Regions from separate parts of the Homo sapiens genome. Here region 2 is linked to region 1. The links are contacts of gene promoters, found by promoter capture Hi-C in blood cells and fetal thymus (Javierre and others, 2016). All regions are on one chromosome and are shown on one strand. Each heading gives the region's core, a stretch centred on a gene start or on the middle of the fragment in contact. The rest is flanking DNA. Distances are from core to core; before and after follow the strand shown.

Region 1 (6,383 bases), core at 269-2,768:
ATCGCCATTCTAGACTGGTTCTGTGACAAAACGTAAACAGTGTTACACTTCCTTTCCAGTATCAATGGGGCAGAGAGAAAGAGCTTTAGGATATCTAAAATGCATATGGCCATCTTGCCAAAAAATTGCACAAAAATATAGGGAAGAACTTAGCAACAGGTGATGAAGGACCAAAGTGAGCATCTCTACCTTTCTACTCTGATTAGGACACCTTTCTCAGTACACCTCCCTCCACACTTCCTCCCTTCCCCAGAAAATACATTTTCAGAGATGGACTATGAGGAAATGAGTTGGGCTAATAGAATTCTTACAAAAATGTCTGCATTTCCTTTCTCTAGTCCCCCCCAAATCACAAGAATATGTTCAACAGTGGAAACAGGCAGGAACTAAGGCTATGAGAGTCTCCTGGACAGACAATGGATTTCATTATTACCAGCCTAATCTACTTCCATGGTGTGATGGCGAATTGTACACACTCTTTGACTTTTGTAATGAGAGGATAAGAGAAAAGAGGAGTTAGAATTTTCTAGGTGACTTAATAATTAACCCTGAGGCTTGGACCACCTAAAACTGACTTACAGAACAGCTAATCTTTCAGGAGTTGACAGCAGCGTTTCATCCCATCTCGGAGGGCCTCTTTGACTTTGTCATTCCGAAGAGTAAAGATGAAAGGATTCAGGAAGGGGGTTAACACAGAAACCAACAGGGAAACTATCTTATTGTACTCAACTCCCTGTGTTTGCTTGGGTTTCACGTAGAGAAACAAGCAGCTGCCATAGCCAATCACAACACAGGTGAAGTGGGAGGCAAAAGTGGAGAAGGCTTTCCTCCGGCCAGAGGCTGACGGGATCTTGAGGATGGTGGAGATAATGTAGGTGTAGGAGACAATCGTAGGGATCAAAGAACCAATGAGAATAAAAACAGCCATTAAGAAAAGGATAAACTCTGTGAGAAGAGTGTTATCGCAGGACAGTTTGAGCAATTGCCCTCGGTCACAGTAAAAATGGTCTAATGAATTTGATTTGCGGAAGGTAAACTGAAATGTGGCATAGATGGGCCAGATTTCAGAAAGAAATCCAAACACCCATGACACTATTACCACCCAAATACAGGTACTGCTGTTCATAATGATGTTGTACCTCAAAGGGTTACACACAGCCACATAACGGTCCACAGCCATCACTCCAAGTAATGCAAACTCCATGGTCCCACAGGAAAAGTTGAGCGATACATGTAGAGAAAGATACTGTCTGCATCCCAGGAAGAGCAATCCCCAAAGCATCATGGGGACAATTATGGTTGTGACCAGGATCTCCAGGGTAGAGAGGTGGCTGAGGAAGAAATACATGGGGGACTGCAGACGTTTATCCACACAGACAATCACAATGATGACCGTGTTTCCCATTAATGTCACTAAATAGAAGAAAAAGAATATAGCAAAAAGAATGTGGTGTAGTCCTTGGGACCCAGGGAAGCCTAGAAGGTGGAATTCAGTGGCACTAGAGTGGTTGTCCATCATTTAGTCCTTGATTCTGCTTGTTTTGAAGCCCAGAGATTAAAAGAGAGGTGGCATTGCTCCACATGGTCCTGCTCTCAAGAGAGAAGGAAGAAAAATTAGGTTAAGAAACTATTTCCAACCTGAGAATCAGGTGACATGTCCCTGCTACTGTGGTCGGCACATACATAGCTTGAGGTACATGTTGTCATCCCAAGTCTACAAGTGAGGCTCTCACTTCCCTGTGTAACCAGCCCCCTAGAATGGGTGAAGACATCTTCTTCTACTGGTGGTGAAATACCTTCCTTGCCTTTTTCCCCATTAAATATACCTTCTCTCGGGGGCAGAGGCTAAGACCTTTTAAATAGGCCAGTTTTAAAGGTGAGTCAATCAGGTCCCTCCGGTCCTGGAGTTACTTTCTCTTAGGTTAACTGTGCAAGATGACACAAAGGCATTTTATATGATGTTCAAAGGACAGAATTTTAAACCCCAGCTCTCATCTGTAATGGTAATGCATAGACCCACCTTTGGGGCCAGCAGAAAGGAGGCAGAGGATGTAAGACTAACATCTCTGCTGTTCCAGATTTTAAAATCTCCATTTTACAGAACAGCAAGATCTCTAAATGAGAACTCTAGAGCTTGGGATAATTTCCCAGAACAGATCCATTCTTCTCTAATTCCATTTTCCTTCCAAAGTTGTGGGAGGAAGGAAAGATGGCACCTGGCACAGAAAAGGAATAGATCTGGGACCGCCAGCTGTTAAGGATGCCTGGCTCTCTGCCTGTCGCTTCATTCCATTATTCAAATGTCACCCTTTCCAAAGACTCTTTCCAATCACTCTGCCCAAAACAGAAAAGACACACTTATTATTGGACTTCCATTTTTTTAATAACAGTTGTTATTACCTTGTATTATGTCTAATTATTTACTTCATTCCTTTATTTAACAATAAACAAATGTAGTCATGAACAGAACAAAGAAAATTCCATGCCCTGTGGAGCTTATATTCAAGGAAGAGGTGGGGGCTAGACCACACACAAGACACCTAAGTAAAATATGCAATAGTTTAGTTTGCTTATCATGTCACAGGGAAAAAAATAAGCAAGAAAGAAGGAGAGGAAATTTAAGTGTATTTATTATTTATCAACGGCATTAGAATATAAACTCCATGAGGGCTAGGACATGTCTTCACTGTTGTATTCTGAGGCTGGCACATAAAATGTACATACATAAATTAAGTAGTTATATATTTTATATATATATATCATATATCTTTTATATAGATATAGACAGATACATTATGTGAAATGAATATATCATAGATATATCTTATATATTAAATTATGTATTAATTTATCACAAGGTAACCGAACTAATAGCTGTGTGAGTCAAGATTTGAACCTAGGTCTGTCAGATTTCATCACTCACACAGCTAACTACCACACCTTATATTATATTATTATCTTATATTATTTATCTTATTTATATAAGATATATGAAATAAGATATATGAAATATATCTTATATTATATAAAATATACATATATTTTTTATTTATAAGATATTTAAATACATAAGATATATGTATCATATACATAAAATAAGTAGTGCTGACAAATTTTGCTAGATGAGGTATGGATGGATGGATGGATAATATATGATTAAATAATACTTGTTCTGGCCAGGGCCTGGGCCACATTCCCTCAATCCTATTCTGGTTGGTTTTCCTTCCTGCCTCACATTACCATTTTCCCTCCTGCCCTTCCCTTGCTTAGGTAACCCCTTCCCTGTCTACGTCACTGTTTTACTAATGGTTTAAAAAGCTTCAGGGACAGAATTGATGGGAAAGCTCAGTGTTCTGGTTTTCCACAACCTCTGCATAACCAGCACGAGATGAAGAAACATGAGCGAGAAGGACACCGACTGTCAGGGAGCCGTGACTGTGTTAGCATTGGGTCCAAGAGGAGCCGGAAGTGCTCTCTGCTATGCAGGAAGGGTCTGGAGATGAGCCTATACACTCTACTGCTCCCCTAGCCCACACTTCAATATCTGGGTGACTTTGTTCTAGAAGATAGGCAGGCCCAGGATGTCCCATCCTAAAATGCTTTTACCCTCTTCTTCATAGAGGAGACCCCTTGGAAAGACACTCACCTTTACAGAGGGGCTTCGCCGCCTCTTCTGATGTTCTCTAGGGCTCCGCTGAGGCTACCTCCTGTCCTGCTAGTGCTGAGCCATGCACAGGGGCCAGAACAAGTTGCTGCAATCCCCACTCATGGCGAAGAAGGGAAATGTCCTCCCAGAGGAGCTTAGGAAAAAGCCCAGAAATGAGTGTTGGGCAAAGTTGAGGGTCCTCTCTCTCTCCCCTCTCCTCCCTCTTCCCTTCTTCCCAAGGGTACTTAATCACCGAGTTACTACTTCTTAATTAGCCCACGTTCAGGGAGTCCCCAGGCAATCAGTCTAGTGGGAGCAGAACAAACTTTAAGTTATTCCCATTTTTTGACCAATTAAGTTTTAGAACTTTTGAAAGTTTTTGTTTGACGGGAAAACCTGAAATCTTACCAATCAGGGACTTCTTAATACTGGGGCTGCCTTCCTGAAAACCTCAGGTCTAGGTTTCCAGATGTCTCAGATTCTAAACAGTCAACTACCTCTGTCGTTTATCTTAGGCTTTTCTCAAGTTTCTCTAGTTATTCGGAGCCTAAATCAACCCTTTTCCCCCAGTAGGAGACACCACAATTGGCCTCTAAAACATGCACCAATATCCCAAAAAAGTCTGCATATTGGTCTTGGTCAAAGCCTTAACTTCACCAAATATCTTCTAAAAAGCCTGATGACTCCTTCATTCATTTTAAAAAGGCTCCTGCGTTTAGTCCTGTGGACCCTACAGAATACTGTAAGAGGTCCCTCCCCTAAATCGAACTCTATTCTGTTCTATTGTCTCAGGTTTTCACTCCTCTTGATATATGTGCATCTGTATGCATTCCAGCAAGATTCTTCCAGACTTTTTTTTTTCCTATGGCATGTCCCTGATTACCAGCTGGACCACTGCAAAGTAGAGAGAGCATAAGGACAGCTTATGTACACAGTTCTGTTTGCAACCTGGAGGAACTGACAAAATGTAAGTTGGAAATCTGTCTAATGCTGGAGTAAGACAGAAAAAGTAGGAATTACAAAACATTTGTCTGCATTTTTGTTTTCATTTTAAGTATTTTAAGTACACCTGTTAAATCTGAGAATTTCAATTGGTGCCTAAGGGTATAAATTGGGATTAATCTTTCTTCCAATTCCTTAAATTGCCCAAGCCCAAATACTTGCCATATAATTTTAGAGAAATTTTCCAAGCATGTATCTCCATATTCTTTTTCGTAAAGGCTGTGAAAATCTGTTTGCAACCTTTTCTTTCTCATTTAACAACATATAAAATATATCTTTCCATGTCAGCACATATTACTCTACCTCTTTTTTTTTTAACATAGGATTCCATTATGTGGATGTCCTATTCTTTATTAGATAGACATTTATTAATTAATTTTCATTGTTGTTTCCATTTTTAATTATGAAAAAATGATGCTATAAATATTCTTAGATATTTGTAAGTACATAAACATGTACTTGTAAGTAAAGTAAGTACGTATACATGTAAGTACATAAACAATTATATTTCTGAAAAAGAAAAAAAAGATTCCCTAGAGTTGGAATGTCTGGGTCAAATGCAGATGTATTGAAGCTATTACTTTTTATTGGCACCAAATTACACTCCAAACATTTTGTATTGATTCACACAATTACTAAGACTGTGTAATAGAAGGGGTCTTGTTTTCCTGACCTGTTATAAGCCAAAGGCATAATTAAAATTTTAATTTTAAGTTGAAGAGAATAAAAACAAGACACCTTAAAAGGGAAATCAATTAACAAGCCTGATGAAATGGAAAATTTTTGAAAGATAAAAATGACCAAAACCAACTCAAAAACAAATATGGATATAGAATCAACTTGAGTATCCATCAATGGATGAGTGAACACAGAAAATGTGGTGTATATATACAATGGAATAGAATTCAGCCATTAAAAGGAATGAAATCTTGTCATTTGTGGCAAAATGGAGAAAACTGGAGGGCATTCCATTAAGTGAAATAAGCCAGGCACATAAAGACAAATACCACATGTTCTCACTCATATGTGGAAACTAAAACAGTTGATCTCATAGAAGTACAGAATAAAATAATGGTTAACAGAAGCTAGAAAGGATATAGGGGAGGGGAAGACAGGAAGAGTTTGGTTAGTGGTTACAAAATTTCAGTTAAATAGAAGAAATAAGTTCCAGTGTTCTGTGGCATAGTAGGGTGACAAGTTTAATGACTATCTATTGTGTATTTCAAAATAGCTAGAAGAGAGGAATTTGAATTTCCCCAACACAAAGAAATGATGAACGTTTGAGGTTATAGATATCCCACTTACCCTGATTTGGTCACTACATGTTGTATACATATATCAAAATATCACATGTACCCCCAACATGTGTACAATTATTATGTACCATTAAAACTTTAAAAGTAAAATAAATGGCCACAGATGTTGTACAAAATTTAATCTTAATAGAGTTGAAAATATTTTGTAAAAAATAAATCCAAACAAGGGGCCAAGATGGCTGAATAAGAAAAGCTCTGGTCTGCAGCTCCCAGTAAGACCAACACAGAAGGCAGGTGGTTTCTGCATTTCCAACTGAGGAACACAGTTCATCTCATTGGGACTGGTTAGGCAGTGGGTGCAGTCCACGGAAGGTGAGCAGAAGCAGGGTGGGGCATTGCCTCAGCTGGGAAGTGCAAGGTGCCAGGGGACCTCCCTCCTTGCAGCCAAGGGAAGCCATGAGGGACTGTGCTACCCAGCT
Region 2 (6,888 bases), core at 460-2,959, 460 kb after region 1:
TTACTACAGAAACATATATTTAAATATTTTTACCAAGAAATAGACTTTCTTGGAATACATTTTGTGCACTGCCCTGACTTCTAATTTAATCTTTCTTCCTAATTCATATACACTGGTATATCTTTTCTCCTCCCTCCCCCTTTCTTTCATTTAAGAAAATGAATATATTTCATTTCACTTTCTGTAGGGTGCATGTATTTTTAAGTTGTTGTAATTCACATTGGGAATAAGGCATGGGCCAAAGATAAAGTCCGGATAAAATCCATTTTTCTATTACCTCAAAAGAGAGTAGTACAAATTGTGGTCCTCCCACCTGTTCCCTTACACACACACATACACATGCACACACACACAGATGCACACACATACACACACATGCGTACACACGTTATACTGGAGAGCACAGTCCAATGCCCACTGTTTTCAGAGTGAGGCCTTCTTGTTACTCAAACCACTCTCTAATGTTTTAATTCAGAGCTCCTCATCAGAGCTCGACTCAGAGCTGCCTTCACATCCTTGTTCCGCAGACTGTAGATGAAAGGATTCAACATGGGGGTCACCACAGCATAAGAGAGTACCATCACCTTTTCCTGCTCAGCTGAGGCCATGGAGCGAGGCTGCATGTAGGTAAAGAGGGCCATCCCATAGGATATGGAGACCACAGTGAGGTGGGAGGCACAGGTCCCAAAGGCCTTGCGGTGCCCCTGGGTGGAGTGGATCTGCAGGACGGCAACTACAATGAGGGTGTAGGACAGCGAGACCAGGCAGCAGGGCACCAGCAGCACCACCACACTGGAGGCCACTATGACCACCTGATTGAAGGTGATGTCCACGCAGGCCGACCTGACCAGTGCCAGTGTCTCACAGGCCACATGGTTCAGCACGTTGTGCCCACAGGTGGGCAGGTGCATGGTCAGTGCCGTCTCCATAGCAGAATTAGCCAGGCCCACTAGCCAAGAGACAGCTGCCAGTGCCATGCAGAGCCTTGGGCTCATCACTGCTATGTAACACAGGGGGTCGCAAACAGCCACGTAGCGGTCATAGGCCATTGCGGCCAGCAACAAAAACTCGGTCCCTCCGAGGGCCAGGGAGAAAAAGAGCTGGGTCCCACATCGGGCAAAGGAGATGGTCTTTCTTTGCTGGTGCAGTGCACCAGCATCTGAGGGACCCTGCTGGAGGTGTAGCAGATGTCCACAAGTGAGAGGTTGCAGAGGAAGAAATACATGGGCAGGTGGAGTCTCACGTCCAGCCAGATCAGGAGCAGGATGAGCCCATTGCCCAGCAGGGTCAGCAGGTAGGCAGCCCCAAATAAGATAAAGAGTCCAGCCTGGGTCTGCCTGTCACTGGAGAGACCCATTAGGATGAACTCACTCACCCAGGTTATGTTGTCCCTTCCCAGTTGGGACATTGAACCTCACTTCTTCAATCTAGGTGGTTAGGAGGGAATGCAAAGGTCTTGGAGAAAAGGACATTTGGTTTCTGACACTAAACCAAATTCTGAGAGGTTCTGAAGGACAAAGTCCCTGTTTTGGCCATCCTTTCACGTCGAGGACCGATCACAGTTACAGTTGTGTAGGAGGTAATCTATCAATGTAGAAGGAATGATAGAGAAGAAAGGATGAAAGAAGCAAAGAAAAACTAAGGAAAGACAATAGGAAAATGGAAAAGGAGGGAAGGAATGTGGAAGATATGAAAGAAAGGAAGGATTCTTCACTGTGGGGAAGCAGTGGGTAAAGTATTGTAATCAGACACTTGAGAACTGTAGGCATGTCCTAGGATTTCTCAGCTCATTTCTTAACTCTGGATTGAGCTGCTCTTCCTGCTTCTTCTAGGGTCCACTAAGTCCAGACAGGAATCCTCTCACATCCTTTTCATTTCTCCCACAAGTCCAGATAAAGCTGAAGTCCTTGAAACCAATATCTACTAATCCCCTGCTGGTGTGCCAGGGTCTGTGCCAGGCATTGGTTACCTGCTGGTAAGTAAGAAAGATAGAAACACGGGCCCTTGCTTTCTTGATTCTTATAATTTATCTAGGGACACAGAGATTACATCAATAATTACAAATAATTAATTAAGTATAATTGTGCTAAGTGCTATGAAGGAGAAGAACAAGGTTAGTATTTGGCTAATTAAATTTGGAGCTTTGTAATTAAATTATGACAGTAGTTATGCCTTACTCCTTAATAACATGCAATTTATATAGTGAGTTTCAGGCATTTATTTAGATGTTTAAACAAATGATTAACAAAGTAATGTTGTGATGCAAGCGTTCGAAAACCAATGATACTCATGTATTACTACTGAGTATGAGGTGATAGAAACCCACAGAATCTTTTCAAACAGAGTGAATTCTCCCTTGTCAGCCAAGGTTGTACCAGTTCATCTCCCTTCTACCATGCTGACTGGTCCTCTTGAAAAATAAAATTAAGTGCCATCACTTTTTCTTAATATAAATATAATCTCCAGATGTATTTCCTGCTCTTAAAAAATTTAATTAACAAACTGATTCATTTATTAAAACATTATTGAGTATATCAGGCACTATGCTTTCAACCAACCTCTAGGAAATTCCACCTTTCAATGTTAGGGATTTGTGTTTAGAAAATCAGCAGTGCCAGAGGATCAAATAATAAATTTTTAAAAATGGATTTTGGTCAAATCTGAGAATCTAATGAGAGCATGTTTGTGCAAGCCACTACAGCCAGAGGACAAATGCCATACATCTGCATTAAGAAAATGAGAGCAGAACCACAGAATAAAATGCAAGAAAGCTGAAATGCATAATTCAATTTATGTTTCTTCTGGCTGGAAACATTGGTGGAGGGAGAGAGCAGAGAGGACCTGGATGGAGCTGGCATCTTGTCTCCATTCAGCCCTGGTCCTGCAGTGGCCAGAAGGTGTCACTGTAGAAACTGCTAAGAATAGAAACTGGCCTTGGGTTCTCAAGGTTGGAGATCAGGTTCTAGGGTCAGAGCCAGGGGCTGGAATTTTGACTGCTGCCCTAGGGAGATGGTTCCCTTGTATCAGCAGAAGTAGATCAATGCTGATCTACTATGATCAGTATGCTGCTTGTTACTATAGACAGAATCTTCACCTTCAGAGTTGGCCTCAAGGATTGAGATACCCTCCAGAAGGTAACCACAACTGTTTAAAATGAAAAGAAATATAGGGGCTAAGTGTTTCATTCCTTTCATTTTATAAACAAGGAAACCAAGGAATAGGGCTACGGTGATTTGCCCAGGTCTCAGATCTACCTGGAGACTAAGCTGGAACAAGGGTCAGGGCTGCCCTGCACATCTAGCTCTACCCAAGCCCATGAGTGAAGGGTGGGAAGGAGTTCTGAAAAGCTGTAGTCTAGGAAGGGAGGCACCTGAGGAACCTCAGATGGGAAGCTCAGGACAGCCATCTATCCTTGAAGAGAAAGACATGTGGTGTGGGGGTAAAGCTTTAAATAAGTCAAGGGGTCTGAGTTTGAGTTTGCCTCTTCCATTAGTCTGCTATGTGCAACTTACTAGACCTCTATGAGCCTCAGTTTCTTCATTTGAAATGCATGAATAATAATAATGCTTATCTCACAACATTTTAAGTAAGATCAGATGAACAAATGAATATGAATGTGCTTTGTAAAGTATAAGTAAACGTAAGTGGCTGTTACTATGCTCAACAAGTCCAAATTACAGAGGTAAAGTCTACCCAGTGCCATGGGGACAAGAAACAATAGAATATGTGCTATAAACGTCAGAAAGTTTTCAGAATGTGGGTCATAAAGCCCCTTGAAATGCATTATATTGCTTAAACCACCTAATTACAGAGACCCTGTTAAATATAGTGAAGAATCAAAGTAGAGGGTTCACCTGTACTCAGTGAGTAGGTAGTACATGCTCTGCACACAGTGTGAACTTAGTACTATTTTATTCCAATACATTTTGGTGATGTTTTTAGATGATGAAAAACTATTTTTATTGATAGATGGCCTCGTTCTTAGCTTTTTGGGACAGAGAATTTTATTCCACTTTTCTCACCTTGGTAAACATGTACTGAGCACTGTTCAGCGCCTGGTCCAGTGGAAGGTATTGGGATAACAAATCAATCAGTCTGGTCTCCTGCTTAGGAACTCAGCCTGCAGGGAGAATAGAAAGAGTGAGTCATCATGACCTTATCAGGGGAGTTTTCAGAGGAAGCTTGATGAAGACATCTGGTAAGAGGAGACATAGAGTCTGGCTATGTAATCAGCTCAGCAGATCTGTAGAAATAATAAAGTAGAAACAAAAAACAAAACAAAACAAAAACAAGAAATAGTGCTCTTGCCTCTTAAAAAAGTAGATGAGGTTTAAGGTATGCTAAGATTCATATAAGGAGGCCTGGGCTTCAAGCTGTATCAGGAAACCATCTACGTATCCATTGGGTACATTGCTACATTTTAAAGCCACAGTTTCTTCATCTACAGAATGAGCAAGTTAGATTAGGTACATTAAGATTTCTTCCAGCTCTAAAGATTTGTGATAAGTGAATATACATAATCTGTGGTTTAAAGTAGTATAGAAGGGAAAAATAGATCCTTTGGTGTTTGATTGCTCTAAGCATGCATAGCTAGTGGGACTGTAGGCAATGAGATATGAATTAGTGGGTTTTGGGTTCAAAGGATTCAGATCTCACACATAGCTGATTGGGGAGGTGTCAATGAACGGGACTAATTGACTCAAAACCAGAGACTAAGGAAACGGGGAAGAGGACTACACCAGTAGAAATGGCAAAACTACTTGGGCCAAGGCTGAAAGGCTGGTAGCCTTCTGATACGTAAGCCTCCTTCCTAAGCACTGCAAAAGAAACTACCATCAGAGTGAACAGGCAACGTACAGAATGGGAGAAAGTTTTTGCAATCTACTCATCTGACAAAGGGCTAATATCCAGAATCTATAATGAACTCAAACAAATTTACAAGAAAAAAACAAACAACCCCATCAAAAAGTGGGCGAAGGATATGAACAGACACTTCTCACCATCTTCTTTATCAAGAAAAGATGAAGGTCTATGTCTATCTTTGGTTCTTATACCAATCCAAGCCCTTCTCCATTCCTTCTTATCTCCAACAGAATAGAAATGCCTCAAGGCCAAGAAAAGAGTCATCTCCCTTTTGACTTCCATTCTTTAGTTTTTAAAATGTATATCTACATATACTGAGCACTTCAGTTTATGCTGTTGATTTGGTGACTGACAAGAACTAGGACTCTATCAAGTGGCTTGAAAACACTGATTTATATCATCTAGGTCACGGGAGGAATTCAAAGAGCCTCCAACTACAACCAGTGAGAAAAACAGTGGAGGATCACAAAACAGTCCCGGGTGCTCCCAGGAATTTGGGCTTTATCCTCCTACCACCTCCTCTTAGCCTTCCTTGTGGGTGACTCACCAAGGCTGAGTGCTCACTTCATGCACAGGACATTTTGAATGTGGAGATGTACATCTCTTAGAAAGTCCTTGATACAGTTGTTCATCCTCTTCTTCGTGATGCAGGCTTTACTTTGTCAGTATTAGCTGATAACTTTTCAGAATTTAGGCATCCCCAGAGGGAAATTACTTGCTCTTGGTGTGTTTCTTACTCATTCTTCCCCACAGCTACTTCTCTGCAACCACAGCTCCCTCCTCTACTAAGTTCCCTGTGGAATACATATTCTAAAAACATTTTATTTCAACTTTTAATTGTCCTTCTAGTTCCTAGCATAATGAGCCCTTCTGTAACTCTTTTATATCTTTTACTGCCCTTCAATGCTGTGGCATCACTGAGGACTTTTAGTAGAAGTTGGGATTCAGAAACATTTACTTTTCTGACCTGGTGAGAAGGGACTGAAAGTAATTGAGATAGGAAAGAGAAACTAAAATTTTAGAACCTGGTCTCCTTCCTAAAGGAAGAAAATGAAAGCACCTTCACCCCTCCTCCCACACACCTAGTTTTAGTGACAGTGACATCTAGTTTTAGAGTGGTGAGGACACATCGCACATTAGAATCATCACATCCATGGCCTGGGAGCCATTGAGAAGTCTCAAGTTCACAGTCATTAAAATAGTTCTGCAGGTTCTTTGATGGTCTCCCACATCACATTCCTGTTGTGTTTCCTTTGCATATTTTCATATTACTAGAAGTTTTTTCTTTATCAGCTTTCCTAATACTGATCTCCCGGTTCTTGGCCATCTTCCACAAAGTTTTAATTTCTTCACTGGAATTACTAGAAGGAGCAGAGGAAACAATGGGTCAGGATGAGGTTTTATTCCCAATATTTAACTATTTATTTCTATAGTAATAGAACATGAGTCTTTGGTAAAATGGGGAGAAAAAAGAGAGACATCAGTGTGTAACCCACTAAATTTTTTTTATAACAATTGGCCAATATTGCAAGATAAAGGTTTACTTACCTGGAAGATTTGTCATTGTAATGACAATGGACTAGGGAACTGTTGTTTAACTTCATGCTCTTCCCCTTTGGGCAAGACCTGAAGAATCTTGGGTTTATCTTTGCTGCTTCCACTGCCCAGGTAAGCTCAGGACCTCACAGGGCCTGAAGCTTTCCCCACCTCAAGGTCTGTGGATGGAGAAAACTGCTAGAACTTCTGACTGAGAGTTGTAGCCAAAGGTTAAGGAGGAGAGCAGCAGTAAAAAGAAAACCAAGGGCACCATGAGGGGGAAGAAGAAGAAAATGACATCTGAGAGGTGGGACCCCTGATGCACTTCAAAGGCAGACTCGGTATGAGCTGACACAGATGACTCCAGTGTAAAGGAAAAGAACTGTTGGGAACCATCCTCCACACTACCTCCTACTCTCATCTAATAAGAATGTTTCCCTGCTGGTAAAAAAGAAAAATGCATCCTTCTTACTTTTCCAAGCACTAAGG

Evidence for each region. Contacts are between HindIII fragments. The CHiCAGO score rates a contact against its expected background, and 5 or more counts as called.
Region 2: a fragment that was not itself captured here is called in contact with the fragment with the promoter of OR9A2 in region 1 in 1 of 17 cell types (neutrophils); the score reaches 5.1 in neutrophils.

What each region holds. Positions count from the first base shown.
Region 1 is chr7:143,025,614-143,031,996 of GRCh38, forward strand. It overlaps OR9A2 (olfactory receptor family 9 subfamily A member 2), which reads right to left and starts at 1,519. Exons shown (of 1, transcript NM_001001658.1): 1 at 587-1,519. The coding sequence starts at 1,519. The coding sequence ends at 587. LOC105375544 (a long non-coding RNA gene) reads right to left here. Exons shown (of 2, transcript XR_001745395.1): 2 at 3,647-6,383. The HindIII fragment of the contact is 3,416 bases long and covers 1-3,316 here.
Region 2 is chr7:143,488,004-143,494,891 of GRCh38, forward strand. All of the region lies in intron 2 of EPHA1-AS1 (EPHA1 antisense RNA 1), which reads left to right. LOC105375547 (a long non-coding RNA gene) reads left to right here and starts at 4,974. Exons shown (of 2, transcript XR_928075.3): 1 at 4,974-6,888. It also overlaps the pseudogene OR2R1P. RefSeq lists a silencer at 3,973-4,267. The HindIII fragment of the contact is 3,467 bases long and covers 1-3,443 here.